Regions from separate parts of the Homo sapiens genome. Here region 2 is linked to region 1. The links are contacts of gene promoters, found by promoter capture Hi-C in blood cells and fetal thymus (Javierre and others, 2016). All regions are on one chromosome and are shown on one strand. Each heading gives the region's core, a stretch centred on a gene start or on the middle of the fragment in contact. The rest is flanking DNA. Distances are from core to core; before and after follow the strand shown. Region 1 holds the start of TICAM2 (TIR domain containing adaptor molecule 2). Region 2 has its middle 80 kb from the start of TRIM36.

Region 1 (2,786 bases), core at 109-2,608:
AACTCCATTTATAACCATCCTACTACTTCAAAATATTAAAATGTAAGGATTGATGGGCTGATAGGTGCAGCAAACCACCATGGCACACGTTTATCTATGTAACAAACCTGCAAGTCCTGCACATGTATCCCAGAACATAAAATTAAATTAAACAATAAAAAAATAGAAATACAGATTCTGGAAATCAAGCTTACCAAATTAAACCTTCAGAGGTGGGGGGATGCATTTTAAACAAAAGTCCCAAATGCGTCTTACCATCAGGCTTGTTTGAAAAACACTAATCTAAGGAATACTAAACACTTGGAGAAGGACAAGTTCTTCTCCTGTGTAGACGTGCAATGTGGGTTCAGGGGATGACACTTCAACTCTATATAATGGTGTATTTTTACCTCCAGATCATATAGCCTTTCCCACCCTTGCTTTTCAAAATTAAAAGGATAAATTAAAAAATAATAATAAATATGAGAATATTTTAAAATACTTTCTTTAAGAAGTTTACTACCGTGGAAAGCTGGAGAGGTCCTAATACACTGAAAACTAGCTCACAGCTGCCAGTCAAATTATTTTTATCCAAATTAGCTTTGCACAAAAAGCCAAGTAGGAAAACCCATGCCAAAACCTCCAGCACTGGCTCTGTGTGCCTGGCAGGGGCTCATGCAGAGCCTTTAGAGCATTTAAGACTCTGGGCTATTTGCTTATGGTTCTGAGGTGTCTTTTCGAAAATGGGTTTTCTAGTCAAAATGAAACAAAAAGGCAGACAGCTGTGTGGATTTTCCCTTCAGAGTAAGCCAAGTGACGGAAAGGCCTGCCCGCCCCGCTGGGGACAACAGCGCCAGCACCCGCGCCGTCGGGTCGGGTAGGCTGGGGAGGTAGCGCAGGCGGCCTGGCCCCCAGACCACCCCGCGCCCCTGGCGGCCTGGCCCCAGCCCACCCCGCGCCCCCGGCGGCGGCCCCCGCCCTAGCGCCCGGTACTTGCCTGCAGGCGAGCGCCACCACAGTCAGCCCGCGGCTTTTCTGTCTTCCTTTCTGGCCCAGCGAGAGCGCCCAGGGGGTGGGCGTCTTGCCCCGGGCGTCGAGAGTTTGGGGCCGTCCCGTACGCGGCGCGCCGCAACCCAGTCCCCGCGACCACAGCAGCCTGCTCCCCACCGCGCTTGCAGAGCCCGGACGCGCGTGAGTCGGGGGCCCGCAGAGGCCTCACCCTTGGAGGTCGCCGCTTGTCAGGCCTGACTGCTGTTGGCGCCCACCCCGCCGCCCCCGAGGGGCCGCTCGAGGCCGGACTGCTGCTTTGCCGTGGCAGGCCCCACCCGGGACGTGGCGCTGCGGGCCGGGGCGGTCCAGCTGTGAGTCAGGGGTTAATGTGGCGGGATAACTCTCTGCAGAGGGAAGGAGCTCGCAAAGAAGGGTGGAGGAGGGGAAACCGCAATGGGGAACTGTCACCGAGGCTAGTGGACTCTCCCTGCGCTTTTTTTTTTTTTTTTTTTTTTGGCATGTACCCCAAAAGCCAGAGGTCGAGGCCCAGAAAAATCTGGAAAGGAATTCCACCGTGTTTGCTCCTTACAGACCAGACAAACCGTAGATCTTTCAGAGGTACAGCGACTCTCCTGGTTCCCTAAGATAGTCTCGACTTTTCCTTTCCCTTTGCGGCCCTCTCACTTGACTACTGCAGCCAACCATACCCCTGATTAGGGGGTGCAGCACATCAGCCTCTGCCCCCAAAAACTACCCTGCGAAAGATCCTTTTTCTCAGGTTCGTTCTCCACAACCGAACAGATTGGAACTCCACTGAATAAGAGAGAACAAAAAAGCAATTAGTTAAATGAAGCGTAAAGAAGCCTTATAAAGCCCCATTGCTGCCTCAGGCACCCAATCTAGTCATAACCTAAGAGGTCCAGTTCAGAAATCTCCCCTCCCCTTTTAATTCTCAGGCAATCCCTACTCCCTGCCAAAGGAGAACCCAGTTACTGAACATCGGATGAGACCATGGATAGTAAATTGGGAGTGAAGGTCCATACCTGGGTCTCAGAAGCACAGTACAGGTAAAGCTAAGAGTTATTTCCTCCTTCTCTTTCCCCATCCAACAACAGGATGCCTTACTGAAGGTAGGCACTTCAGGTAGTAATTACTTAGTGAAATGCCGCCAATGTAGTCAGAAATACCGTATTATGTACCGTGTCAACACAATTCATTATTCACGGAGTTGATTCTCCAACCACTGCACCTCCCAACAATTCTACCTGAACTCTTTGGGTAAGCAGTGGCCTCCTAAATCCAACTGATACTTTTGTTGCCCTCATTTTTCCTGGGAGTCTCTTTGGCGATTGACAAAGTCGACCATTGTTTCCCAACACTCTGTTTCCTTGATGTTGACAACCCCACTTTGCCTTTATGCTCATCCTGCTTGTTAAAATTCTTTCAGGCCTGTTGGGAGGCCGAGGCGGGTGAATCACGAGGTCAGGAGATCGAGACCATCCTGGCTAACACGGTGAAACCCCGTCTCTACTAAAAAATACAAAAAATTAGCCGGGAGTGGTGGCAGCTGCCTGTAGTCCCAGCTACTTGGGAGGGTGAGGCAGGAGAATGGCTTGAACCCGGGAGGCGGAGCTTGCAGTGAGCCGAGATCGCGCCACTGCACTCCAGCCTGGGCCACAGAGTGAGACTCCGTCTCAAAAAAAAAAAAAAAAAAAAAAAATTCTTCTTTCAGTTTCCTCTGCCTGTTCCTCTTTCTCTGGCAACCCTTCAAAATCAGAGCTTTTCACATTTTCCCACTGAAATACCACCAATGACAG
Region 2 (2,786 bases), core at 149-2,648, 510 kb before region 1:
TACAGGGATGATCATCACTTGTTGGGGCTGAGGAAAAACATTTTTTAAGGAGGGAGAAATTAGAGTGTTAAAGTGCCCAGGGTTCAAGTGAGATAAGCGTGACATTACTCCCTGTTATGTTTGGACTTTTGTGCGCAGCATTGTTCTCAGCAGTCACAGATCTGCTGGTTGCAGCAAGATCACCACCATCCTCAGTACTGCCAATTATTTTCCCCAAAGCTGCTCATTTACTCACAAAGGATGGGAAAGCTCAGTTGATTCTGGCTGTGGCTGTAGAAAGCCTAGATTGGAGAAGCCAGACTAGCAATATGCAATGCTCATAAATTAATCCTGGTTTGGAAGAAAAGCTTGACTTACAGGTTTGGATATTCAGTAGCAAAACCCTGTACCCCACAAACTACAATTAAGTATAACCTGTCTTCTGAGTCCAGGGGGACTGAAAGTGACTAAGCCATAAGAATGACCTATATGGCCTCTGGCATTGGAAATTTTCCTTTTACTGAGAAAAAACAGATTAGCATATGCCAATGGCCAGACCATAAATGAAAAAGATTTAATTATTTACCATATAAAAGTATAAAGCATTTGGGGGGAAACTATACTACAAAAAAGAAAGTCAGAGCTGGGTGTGGTGGTGTGCTCCTGTAATCCCAGCTATTTGGGATGCTGAGGCAGGAGGATCACTTGAGCCCAGGAGATAAGAGACCAGCCTGGGCAACACAGGGACACCTTAATCTCAAAAAAAGAAAAACTCAAGAGCTAAACAAGAAACTGGGGGAAAAAAATCTTGCAATATATATGGCAAAGGGTTAATATCCTTAATAAATAAAAAAAGAAGACAGATGGTGAATAATCTTTATTCATCAGTTTCACCAACATATTTGCCCTGAACAGGATTGTCAGCTCTCAGTAGATATCTGGAACTCTATGCTGACTTAGGAGGAAAATTTAAATAGTCTACTGGTAAAAAGAAGTCAGCATTTGTCAGTGACAGTAGAACTGCTAGAAACTAGAGAAATCCAGGAAAAGCATGGCTTCATTTCCATGTTTTCACACTGAGCAAAATGAGGAAAGGAAAGTGTTATATTGGGGCTGAACTGGCACATTTAAAATATAGAACAACTTATAACCCTGTGTTCTGGGGCTTCCTGAAAGTTAACAAAGATCTAGCAAGCTACAGGGGAAATAAATAATAGGAGAATCATTCAATAACAGCTCTGTCTTTAATAAAGCTAATGTTTTGACAATTTTATAATGTTTGTATGGTTTTTGTTTTGTGGTAAGCTCAGAAGTAATCACAAAATATAATATGAAAGCATTATTATGATAAAAATAAAAACAACAAAAACAGATTGAACTAAGAGCAAAGGAAATCAATTCAATACCTTGCATTTCTCAAGGACTGATAGCTACACAGAGGGAGATAGCTACCAATACTGTAATTTGAGGGGCCCTAGAAAGGCTCCAGTGGAGATAATTCCTCTCATTTCCTCCTCTGAAATTCAGCCTTTGAAATTTAATTCGTTAAGATCTCAAACGCCTTTGGTTTCTTATGCTAATAAGGACAAGGATATCAGCCTAAAGTCATTTCCAACTATCACCCTTTCAAGGCCCCAGTGGAAAGAGAATTGAGACTAGAAAATGAGGTGAGAACCCTAAAAAGGGGAAACCTGGGAGGAGGCAAATACACATTTCTAACCATTCTAGTTGTACCAAGGTCAACATATCTCCCAGGCACACACATCACACAGGGACATCTGAAAGGGAGAGAACTGACAAGGAAACCTGCATAGATTCTAGAGCAGGTGCTCGCTAAGGTGTAACTTGCTGGCTTAGAAGGTACTGGCAAAGACACAGGGTTGCAGACATCGACTTCTTAGCAGATATCCTCCCACTCACTGCCTCAGCCTTCAGGGCTTCTTCAGAATTTCACAAATGCACCTTTGTTGTTGTTGTTGTTGTTGTTGTTGTTGTTATTGTTGTTGTGACAGATATTTGCTCTGTTGCCCAGGGTGGAGTGCGATGGTACTGGCTCAGCTCACTGCAACCTCCTCCTCACAGGTTCAAGCAATTCTCCTGCCTCAGCCTCCCAAGTAGCCAGGATTACAGGGGCCCACGACCATGCCTGGCTAATTTTTGTATTTTTAGTAGAGACGGGGTTTCACCATGTTGGCCAGGCTGGTCTGGAACTCCTGACCTCTGGTTATCCACCTGCCTCAGCCTCCCAACTTGAGCCACCGCACCTGGCCACAAATGCACCATTTCAAAGGAGTTTCCCCCAAGATGAATAATTGCCCCAGCGGTGGGCTTCCAACTTCCCTGCAGCCATGCCTGCCCTCTGCATTTGCATATCTTGCTGGGTTTTCACAACAAAAAGAGTTGGTCACAGGTGAATCAGCAGCTCAAGAAAAGCACAAATATTTTTCTGAGAAAATAAAATAAAAAGCTAAAAGCTTGCAAAGCCACCAGATGCTGAATACCTCAGAAAAAGAATTGCTTTGTAATACTGCTTTGAAAGGAGCTTTCTAAGCAGATGAGGTTCTCCCTCCTTCTAAACCACCTCCCAGCAAACCAGATATTCAGGTCATTCTCATTACTTTCTGGGGGTATCTCCATAGTTTAGAAGGCAAGATCACAAATTTTTTTTTTTTTTCCTGAGACAGGGAGCTCTGTTGCCCAGGCTGGAGCGCAGTGGCAGGATCACCACTCACTGCTGCCTCAGGCTCCCAGGCTCAAGCAATTCTTCCATCTCACCCCTATGAGAAGCTGAGACTACAGGCATGCCA

Evidence for each region. The method cuts DNA at HindIII sites, captures the fragments that hold promoters and counts their contacts. A CHiCAGO score of 5 or more calls a contact.
Region 2: a contact is called between a fragment that was not itself captured here and the fragment with the promoter of TICAM2 in region 1, in 2 of 17 cell types (naive B cells and monocytes). The highest score is 6.5, in naive B cells.

What each region holds. Positions count from the first base shown.
Region 1 is chr5:115,601,121-115,603,906 of GRCh38, forward strand. TICAM2 (TIR domain containing adaptor molecule 2) reads right to left here and starts at 1,359. Exons shown (of 2, transcript NM_021649.7): 1 at 977-1,359. The region is part of intron 3 of TMED7-TICAM2 (TMED7-TICAM2 readthrough); the gene reads right to left. TICAM2-AS1 (TICAM2 antisense RNA 1) reads left to right here and starts at 1,035. Exons shown (of 3, transcript NR_109875.1): 1 at 1,035-1,340; 2 at 1,926-2,036. RefSeq lists enhancers at 681-760, 709-1,231 and a silencer at 851-1,350. The HindIII fragment of the contact is 4,479 bases long and covers 188-2,786 here.
Region 2 is chr5:115,088,730-115,091,515 of GRCh38, forward strand. No RefSeq gene overlaps it. Among named protein-coding and RNA genes, the nearest start is that of TRIM36, 80 kb to the right of the region's middle. RefSeq lists enhancers at 1,795-2,294, 2,295-2,786. The HindIII fragment of the contact is 2,106 bases long and covers 346-2,451 here.